Regions from separate parts of the Homo sapiens genome. Here region 2 is linked to region 1. The links are contacts of gene promoters, found by promoter capture Hi-C in blood cells and fetal thymus (Javierre and others, 2016). All regions are on one chromosome and are shown on one strand. Each heading gives the region's core, a stretch centred on a gene start or on the middle of the fragment in contact. The rest is flanking DNA. Distances are from core to core; before and after follow the strand shown. Region 1 holds the start of SLK (STE20 like kinase). Region 2 overlaps SLK (STE20 like kinase).

The links. The method cuts DNA at HindIII sites, captures the fragments that hold promoters and counts their contacts. A CHiCAGO score of 5 or more calls a contact.
Region 2: a fragment that was not itself captured here is called in contact with the fragment with the promoter of SLK in region 1 in 5 of 17 cell types (activated CD4 T cells, total CD8 T cells, endothelial precursors and 2 more); the score reaches 6.6 in activated CD4 T cells.

What each region holds. Positions count from the first base shown.
Region 1 is chr10:103,964,445-103,969,248 of GRCh38, forward strand. SLK (STE20 like kinase) reads left to right here and starts at 2,696. Exons shown (of 19, transcript NM_014720.4): 1 at 2,696-3,451. The coding sequence starts at 3,302. LOC102724351 (a long non-coding RNA gene) reads right to left here and starts at 2,601. Exons shown (of 5, transcript XR_007062282.1): 1 at 1,337-2,601. RefSeq lists silencers at 2,558-3,017, 3,058-3,107, 3,118-3,217. The HindIII fragment of the contact is 5,644 bases long and covers 1-4,804 here.
Region 2 is chr10:104,010,287-104,015,090 of GRCh38, forward strand. It overlaps SLK (STE20 like kinase), which reads left to right. Exons shown (of 19, transcript NM_014720.4): 13 at 530-622. Among named protein-coding and RNA genes, the nearest start is that of MIR936, 35 kb to the right of the region's middle. The HindIII fragment of the contact is 1,752 bases long and covers 1,102-2,853 here.

The DNA of each region.
Region 1 (4,804 bases), core at 1,446-3,945:
TCATACTTAATGTATATAACTAGATGAGCTGGGTGATAACTGTACATCACCACTGCCTATTACATAAACATATCCATCATCACAGGCTTAACTTTTAACAGTGGTTAGGTCGAGGGTAACTATGAGTAGGGGGGAAGGAAGGAGGACAGAACTATAGACAGCTTCCTAGTTTATAATTTCTGTATTATTTGAATTATTTACAACAAAAATATACTATCTTTCATTTTTATTTTTTCTTCGAGACAAGTTCTAGCTCTGTTGCCCAGGCTGACGTGCAGTGGCACAAACATGGCTCACTGCAGCCTCATCCTCTTGGGCCCAAGTGATCCTCCTGCCTCAGCCTCCCCAGTAGCTGAGACCACAGGTGAGTGCCACCATGCCCAGCTAATTTTTCTGTTTTTAATTTTTGGTAGATGTGATCTCGCCATGTTGCCCAGTCTGGTCTCAAATTCCTGGGCTCAAGAAATCCTCCCACCTCAGCCTGGGATTATAGGTGTGAGCCACCCCACCCAGCCAGTAATACACTATCTTTTAATTGACAAAATAGTAAAGTCTTTTCTATTTTGAAAAGAACAAAATAAGGAAACAGACATATACCCATTGACCGAAATCTACTTTTGGCAATTTATCCTAAGGAAATAATCAAATATGTGGAAAAAGATTTGTGTACAAAGATATTTATCCGTATTTTATTAAAAACAGAGGAATTATAATCTAAATATCTCATAATGGAAGAGAACAATTATTAATTGTATTGAAATATGCGAAGTGCAGGATGCAAACCTTTTTATGTAATACAACCTCAACCATGTTGAAAAAAGTTAATGCACAACCAAAAAAATCCTGTTTTGAAATATAAGTTCTTATCAATGGTTGTGTCTGGATAGTAGAATTATAGTACTTTTAATTTAATTTTATTTTTTAAGCATTTCATTTTCTCCATAAATGATAATAATTACAAATAATTATAGTATTGTTTTCACAGGTCTATACATTTGTCAAAACATATAAAAGTGCACACTTGCAGCAAACCACCATGGCACGTGTATACCTATGTAACAAACCTGCACGTTCTGCATGTGTATCCCAGAACTTAAAGTATAATTTTAAAAAAAAGCAAACAAGTACTAGCAAAAAAACCAAATGCACACTTTAAATATGTACAGTTTATTGTATATCAATATATTGCAATAACACTTAAAAAAATAGAAGGATCTCAAGGAATTGAATCATCTTAAGCGTCTTACTGGAAGGGGGGTTTTGCTATGCCATTTTGGGGCTGAAGGGCAAAATGACTGGGGGGGCAGACATTATATAAATAGCAATATATACATACATTGTCTCTGCTCCAGATACCGCCATTCATTCATTCATTCACCAGATCTGCCTTCCTATTATATGCCAGGAATGTTGCCGGGTACTTGGATATCTTGATGAACAACAAACCACTGGCCTGAAAGAGCTCCCGTCTGGTGGAGGAGGGGAAGGTAGGTCACCACCTGACGGATTCCAGCCAACGTCCACACTGCCCCACCAGGGAGTGCTGCCCAAGGGGGCTGGAGGCAGATCAGGAAGTGGGGGCCTTAGCTGAGGTGGAGTCACCAAGAGTGACACCAGGTTTACAGTTGTGGAGGTGGCCAGAAGTTAGTTTTACCCTCAAGGGAGTGTCGCAGTCATCAGTTGAGAAGTGGGGGCCCGGCGCGGTGGCTCACGCCAGTACTTTGGGAGGCCGAGGCGGGCGGATCACGAGGTCAGGAGATCGAGACCATCCTGGCTAACACGGTGAAACCCCGTCTCTACTAAAAATACAAAAAAATTAGCGGGGCGTGGTGGCGGGCGCCTGTAGTCCCAGCTACTCGGGAGGCTGAGGCAGGAGAATAGCGTGAAGCCGGGAGGCGGAGCTTGCGGTGAGCCTAGTTCGCGCCACTGCACTCCAGCCTGGGCGACAGATCGAGACTCCGTCTCAAAAAAAAAAAAAAAAAAAAAAAAAGAAAGAAAGAAAAAAAAGAGAAGTGGTCTTAAACAGTTTTTATGTATCTGTGTCTATCTTGCCTGCACACTTAAAACAACAAGAGTAAGAACTAAGATTGAGCGTTTACGGGTGCAGGGGCCGCGCAAAGGGCTTCCATCTATTGTCTCATTCACAACCTTCTGGTAGGGACTATTAGGATCTTCATTTTACGGCGAGGAAACCGAGGCTCGGAGAGGTCACCTGCCCAAGGTCACAGATCTCTCTCTCCAAAGCTCAAGCTCACAACCACCACACAAACTCCCCTCTCACTGTACCTGGGGCCCGTCTGAGAGCGAAAAAGTCCGCTTTCAGGTCCCAACCCTAACAGGTCCGGCTTTCACTCCACAGTTTTTCCCAGATCCAGAATGGAGACAACATCCGCTAGCACAATCAACAGGGTCGTCCCACGGGGGCCGCTCCATCAAGGCCGTGGACTGACAGGATTTGGGGCTTGGAGGGCAAATGAGAAACAATCGTCAGGGACCGAAGAACAAATGCGTCCATCACACCAGCCCCCCGCACCCCGAGCCCCGTGCTCCGCTCACGCGAACCCTCGGGGGCAGCCAGTCTGAGGGACGTAGCGCGCGTGCGCGGGGCCAGAGGGGACGCCCCCACGCGAGCGCGCGGTGAGCAGGGCGCGTGACCGGGCGGGCGCGCAGCCGGGAAAGCGCGCGGGCGCGCTACGGAGTCGGCGTCGGCGCGCGCTCCAGGCCGAGGCTGTGTGGGCTGGGGAGGGAGACAGGCGGCGGCGGCGGCGCCCCAGACCCGAGGGGACGCGCGGGCCTTGCGCCGCGGGAGCGGACGGCGGCGGAGGAGACCCTAGGCTCGCGGCCCGAGGCGGGAGGGCTCGGCTTCTCGACTGCCCGCCTCCGAGGCCGCCGGCCGCTTCTCTCTCCCAGAGTGGCCGCCGCCCCTGGAGACTCGCCGTGACACGGGCCTAAGCCGCCGCCGCGGGAGTCCTGACCGCTCGGACCCGTCGGATCAGGCCGGGTGGGAGCGAGCTTGCGGGCAGGTGCCGCTCCCGGAGGGTGGGCCGGAGGCGAGGCGCCCACCGCGCGGCTCGCGGGCCGGGCTCGGCGGAGGGGCCGCTCGCGCAGCACCCCCACCGCGGGCCGGAGCCCGGGTCGCCGCCCCGCCTTCTCCCGGGACCGCCCGGCCGGAGCTGCGGGGGCCGAGGGACGCCGCGCCCGCCGCCGCCAGCCGGGCTCGCGCGGGAGAGCAGGGAAGAGAAACTTTGCCTTTTATTGTTTTTAGTCCTTAAGTGCAAGGAACTCTGTGTTGGGAGGAAAAATGTCCTTCTTCAATTTCCGTAAGATCTTCAAGTTGGGGAGCGAGAAGAAGAAGAAGCAGTACGAACACGTGAAGAGGGACCTGAACCCCGAAGACTTTTGGGAGATTATAGGAGAACTGGGCGACGGAGCCTTTGGGAAAGTGTACAAGGTAAGAGGGGGAAAACGGGAAGTTGTACTGCGAAGGTAAAACAGCCACTGGCCTGGAGTGGCGGGAGGACTTCTGCTCCCCTGGTCCTTATCCTGTCCTTCTTTTGACTGTTACGGTTCGATGCAACTTTACTTGGCTGATCATCCAAGGAGTAGCTAAGAAGTCGGGTTTACGGTGGAACAAAATGGGGCCTGGATGGAGTTTAAAGAGCGATTGGAAAAGGAGACAGGGTTATAAAGTCTACTCTTTCAAACTTCAAAGGAAATGAGAGTGTTCTTTAATTTATAGGAGGGGTCTGGTTGTGCCCTTCAAGTATTTTAGAATGAGAAACTCATTGCACTTTGCAGTGGATTTGTCTACTGACTGCATTCGCGTGCATGCTTGTACTCCAACAGTTCTGTTTTTAGGGTCCAGTATATATATTTGGTTGTATCTAGAGCTAATACAGAACTAGTTGGGATCAAAGTGATTGCTACTTGCAGTCTCTTCTTGAGTTAGTTGCTTGACAGCATACTATAAAATAGAATGGAATTTCTGACAAAATTTCCAAAAAACCTTCATGTGGTACTAGTTTTAAATATATTTATGGTAAGCATTGACTAGAAGTCAGTATCAGCGCTTAAGCAGTTAAAAACACACACGCATGTATTTATTTCAATAGAAAGAGGCTTGGCGTTTCAACCTGAAGGCATTAATGTTAACTATTTAATATCTCCTAAGGAACATATGAATGATGTCATTGGAGTATTTTCATCCTGAAGGGCGAATTTTTTATGAGACAGCGTTTAGGGGAAGGACCCACAGGGTTGCCTAGAAGTGAAAACGTAAGAAAATAACTTATGTTTATACAGGACTTTGAAGTTTTTAAGTACTTTCAAATAATTTGGCCCCCACAAAAATCTTGTGAGGTAGGCAGGTCAGTATTAGTATCCACATTTCACAGATGAAGATATTGAAATTGTTCACAGTCACATGAGTCTCAGCCTAGACTTGAACTCAGGTCTTCTGAGCCCATATTTAGTATTGTTTTTTATTTTAACAGTCACTGGTAGAAATGAGAGCATTTTGCCTACTACTTTCTTTTTTTTTTGAGACGGAGTTTCGCCCCTTTTGCCCAGGCTGGAGTGCAATAGCGCGATCTCGGCTCACTGCAACCTCCCCCTCCCGGGTTCAAGCGATTCTCCTGCCTCAGCCTCCCGTAGTAGCTGGGTTTACAGGCATACGCCACCATGCCCGGCTAATTTTGTATTTTTAGTAGAGACAGGGTTTCTCCATGTTGGTCAGGCTGGTCTTGAACTCCCGACCTCAGGTGATCCGCCCGCCTCGGCCTCCCAAAGTGCTAGGATTACAGGC
Region 2 (4,804 bases), core at 728-3,227, 45 kb after region 1:
ATTTCTCCTTTGTGTATTCTAAGACTTGCTTTCCTTTTTTGTTTTTGGCCTCATTAAGTAGATTTTATTTAGCATTATTTCTTTAGTATGATCAAGCCAATTATGAAATTTTGCACTTTTATAAATGGCATTAGCTTTCCTTATGTTCAATATTTCCAACTATGTCAATAGATACGTTTATAATTTTATGATCTTTCAACAAGGTCAGTTGAGTTTATCACCTGTAGTTCAGCATCAGTGCTGCAAGTAATTCTTCGCTGGTTGTCTTTGGACCTTTAAGAAAGAGAATGATACATAGGGTTATTAAGCAACTAATTAACCTTTGTGTGGTGTAATGTCCCTTTCTGCACTGAGATTATGCATGTTCTCTTCTTTCATTCTTTTTCACCAGACTAACACCTATGCTAATGCATGTTGAAAGGAACTTTTTAACAACTTTAATATTTGACTTGTAGCTTATCTGCTCTCATAAATGCTTGCTGTGGAGAAAGTATCATTTCCCCACCTCCTGCATGCTTATACACTGTAGGTTATAAATGAAGTGGAGAAAGCACCCAAAGAGCTGAGAAAAGAGCTCATGAAACGCAGGAAAGAGGAGCTTGCACAAAGCCAGCATGCTCAGGTAACAGCAGCAGCTTAATGCTACTAAAACCAGAAAGCACCATTTTCTCACAGCTTGATAAACCATGGTTGAAAGGGTAAATTTTAAGTGTTATTATTATATGATGTTGACTTCTCCCCATTCAAAAACTCCTGGAATCTTCTTTATTTAATACTAAATTCCTACTAATGGTGACATTTAAGTTGCTAATATGAAGTTAAGTGGAATGTTTGGAAAGTTGACTCCAGATGAAATAAACAAGTATATGAATGTATAATCCACTGTTATCTGATTTTAATCTTGATGGGAGCTTATAGTTTTAAGTAGTAATGCCAATGTTTGTTAGAAAACTTTTAGGACATAAAAATAGAGGATGGTATATAAGCTTTGTGCTTACAAAAAGTATGCCCATTAAAACGCTATTATTTCTATAAAGTGCAGTTAGAAGAAAAATAGCAAATGGTAACTTTAAATGGTAGTTCAAACATGTATTGCTTTTAAGCTTGACAACATAAGCAACTTTAAAACTGGATTTTAAATATTAAGTACCTTGTTTTTCTTTTTGGTTCACAATCCAGCAGTTAAACAAATAGACTATTTTTACCTATATAGAGTTTAAAGCAACCCAATCTAGGTTATGATAAAGTTAAGCCTTGTCATAAGATGGGTGAATTCTTTTTTTTTTTTTTGGTGAATTGGAGTCTCGCTCTGTCTCCAGGCTGGAGTGCAGTGGTGTGATCTCGGCTCACTGCAGCCTCCGCCTCCTGGGTTCAAGCGATTCTCCTGCCTCAGCCTCCCGAGTAGCTGGGACTACAGGCATGCACCACCACGCCCAGCTAATATTTTGTATTTTTAGTAGAGATGGGGTTTCACCATGTTGGTCAGGATGGTCTCGATCTCTTGACCTCGTGATCTGCCCGCCTCAGCCTCCCAAAGTGCTAGGATTACAGGCGTGAGCCACCACCACCGGCTTGGTGAATTCTTTACGAAGTGAGATAAATTAGTATTTGTAACAGAATTTTCTAGAATTATCTCACATGACAAGTCTTTCATATGAAGGAAGATGAATCTTCTGATTAAATTTATGCTAAGCCTGGAGGCAAGGATAAATGAGCTCAATTTTCCATTACATAAGTCAGTGAAAGGAAGAAGAGATGTGGATCGTGTATTTAATCGATCCTTTGAATTATCTTTTTAATTTGTTGTTTTATGTGATTTAACAAGTGGTTCCCAGACTTGTGGATTTTATAGACCCATAAAAAGAAACATAGAAACAATAAAAACCACTGGGGACCATGACATGGGCTGCCATTAAAAAAATTTTTTTTTAAATTTTGCTAAGTAAAGATATTTTAAAACTGCCATTTACTTGTCACCATCATTTCAAAGGAGAGAATATTTTTAACACCATGAAAAATAAGGAAAATATAATCTTAGAATTTAAAAATTAAATAAAACTAGCTTGTCTGAATAAATTTAGTTTGCTTTTGTTTTTTTCTTGCTATGAGCCATTGAAACATTTTTTCTTGGCCTGGTGTGGGTATTCCTAGTTTAAGGTGGTTAATAGCAAACGCAGCATTTACTATATGTCAGGCATTGTTCTAAATGCTTTATGTGTATGAACTTATTTAATCTGAGTTAATTATCCTTGAGGTAGTCTTATTACCCCCAGTTTACAGTTGAGGGAACTCAAGCACAGGAAGGCTGAGTGACCCTCCCAAGGTCACACACCTGGGTAGTGGTAGAGCCAGGATTCTCATCCAGATAAGTTTGGGTACATGTTTCACACACTGATTCGCTGCACCATGCTGCCTCTCATATTTAAGCTACCTACTTGTGCTGCAACTTAAACTCTCGTCAGCTTGACTCAGTGGTTCTTGGCCATGTCTTGTTACCAAGTGAAGAGGAAGTCCTTGCTGGCCACACATGTACTTTTGGTTAATTTGGATTTCAAACCAGATTAGAATAATATGGTTTTTGCCTTATAAAGGAATATAGATTTTTATTAATTCCAAAAGGCCATGTATCAAATTCTAAAGTCAAAACTGAGAATTAATGTTGAATGAATTAGGTAATACTATGTTTTAATAAGACTTTGTTGGTGATTTTTCATATAATTTTGGTAACAGGCCAGTATTTTCTGAGTAGAGCTGAAAGTAATCATAAATTCCTTCAGTAAATCTAATGAGGAATTTAGTAATCTAACAAATATTAAAAGTATTTCTATCTACTGCTTTAAGCGAAGGTACAAAAGCTTTATAACTTTACAGTCTATTTCAAACTTTTTTTGAGAATTCATAAGTAATGGTCATACAGTCATGGAGCTAGAACATATTTGATCATTTAAGTCCAGTGGTTTTCAAACTATACTAACAGGAATTTTGACTTTGAAAGAAGCAACTATGGGAGTCCCTAAGACGGCAAGAACTCTGGGCTGTGAGCCCCTGCTTCTGCTTCAACTCAAGCAACACCACTTTTGCTGTGGTTTATAAACTGGGATTTTTGGGGGTGAATTTTAAAAAAGGGGGTTCTACTAGCTTAAAAAACAACAGCAACACACTAGAGTTTGGAAACCACTGATCTAGTTCAAATCCTTCATTTTACAGATGAGAAAGAGGTCCATCTGTTAAGTGACTTGTTCCAGGCCTCAAGAAACTCAACATTTGTATAATTATTCTTTTCGTTTACAAAAAGTCATTCAGATATATTCTCACCTGGGAGGTGCATTCTATTCTGATCCACAGGGTGTTGCTCAGATCATGATTCAGTCTTTTCAGTTGTCATCTTGTGCAGTCTTCAACGCCCAAATGCAGGACGTAAGTCCCACGTGCCTGTGGGAGGATGGCTTCTCCTGTTTTACCTGCCTTTTCACATGTGCCTTTTCATTGTTGGCTTCATTTGCCAAAATCTAGATGATTGATACATGATAATGTTTGTAATGACAATAATAGTGATAACCTGACTTTAGACTTCAGTATTCTTCAGAGTTTTCACATTTGGTTCTCATTGCCACCACCCTAATATAGGGATGGAGTCATATAACCATTTTACAGATGAAGAAATTGAGGCACAGAAGACTGTGATCTGCCTCAAGTCACATAAGAGATTAACGGTAGAGCTGGAACTAGAGCACTTTTAACACGGTGTTCTGTCTACCCCGCCACAAATTCTAATTTGGGATTTTCATGTTTCTCAAGAAAATAAAATACCCTCTCAATAGTATAAGCTTTGCACATGTGAGAAATTGAATGCTGTGATTAGATTTTTATTTTCGTGTGAAGTGACATTTTGATTGCATATATGTTTATGTAGATGTTTTAATTATGGATATGGTCAGAAAAGCCATGTTAAAAGTAGTGATTTTCATTCCGTTTAACTCTATTTTCCATTTATTCAAGTAGTCAATAATGAATAGTGAGTTTCTATTCTCCTTATTGTAGTTTTAAGTTAAGTTGGAAATTCCAAGCTGTATTCTTTCTTGCAGTTTCTATAGGGAAATAACTAGCTCATTTAACACTGTAATTTTTGTTTGTGACGTCTGATATATACAACAGGAGTAGATAGAATACAGCTTGATTTCAACCCCTCCTTTTTCCTCTCCTGAAATTAGACTTGTTTTTTATTATTGGCAGCTGTTTGACTTTTTACTGTTTTCTAAGAGAGTAAGTAAAACATTGATTTTTAAAAGGAGAGGGAGAAATTATGAATTACGATCACTTTTCTGATCATTACCATTTTTAGCCTTTGTTTTCATTTAAAATGATCAAATTCTATACAAATAGCCCAATATATCATAACCCTTTCTTACAGTTTTCTAGACCCCAAAGTTATATTTTTAATGTTTATAGTTATCTGATTAATATGATAAAATTGTTTATCCACATTTAAACTTGTACTTTTAAAGGGCACTCATTTTACAATTTATGTGTTTACTTTAAAAAATGATTTTTGGCCTTAATAATTTGGGTTCTTTTGTTGTTGTCTTTTATTTGTTAATCCAAGTGATTAAGTTCATCTTTTTTTTTTTAAGGTGTGTTTGTGTAATCTATTTGAAATGTGAGTGCTCTTTTCATACCTGAAAGTAATTTCTAATTATAAATTCCATGTGAATGTTATTGTATTTGGCTTTTGAAGTTAGGGAATTTAGTGAATGTGTAATAACATTAACATTTTGTTTGTTTTGAGGTAATGAAATATATTGAT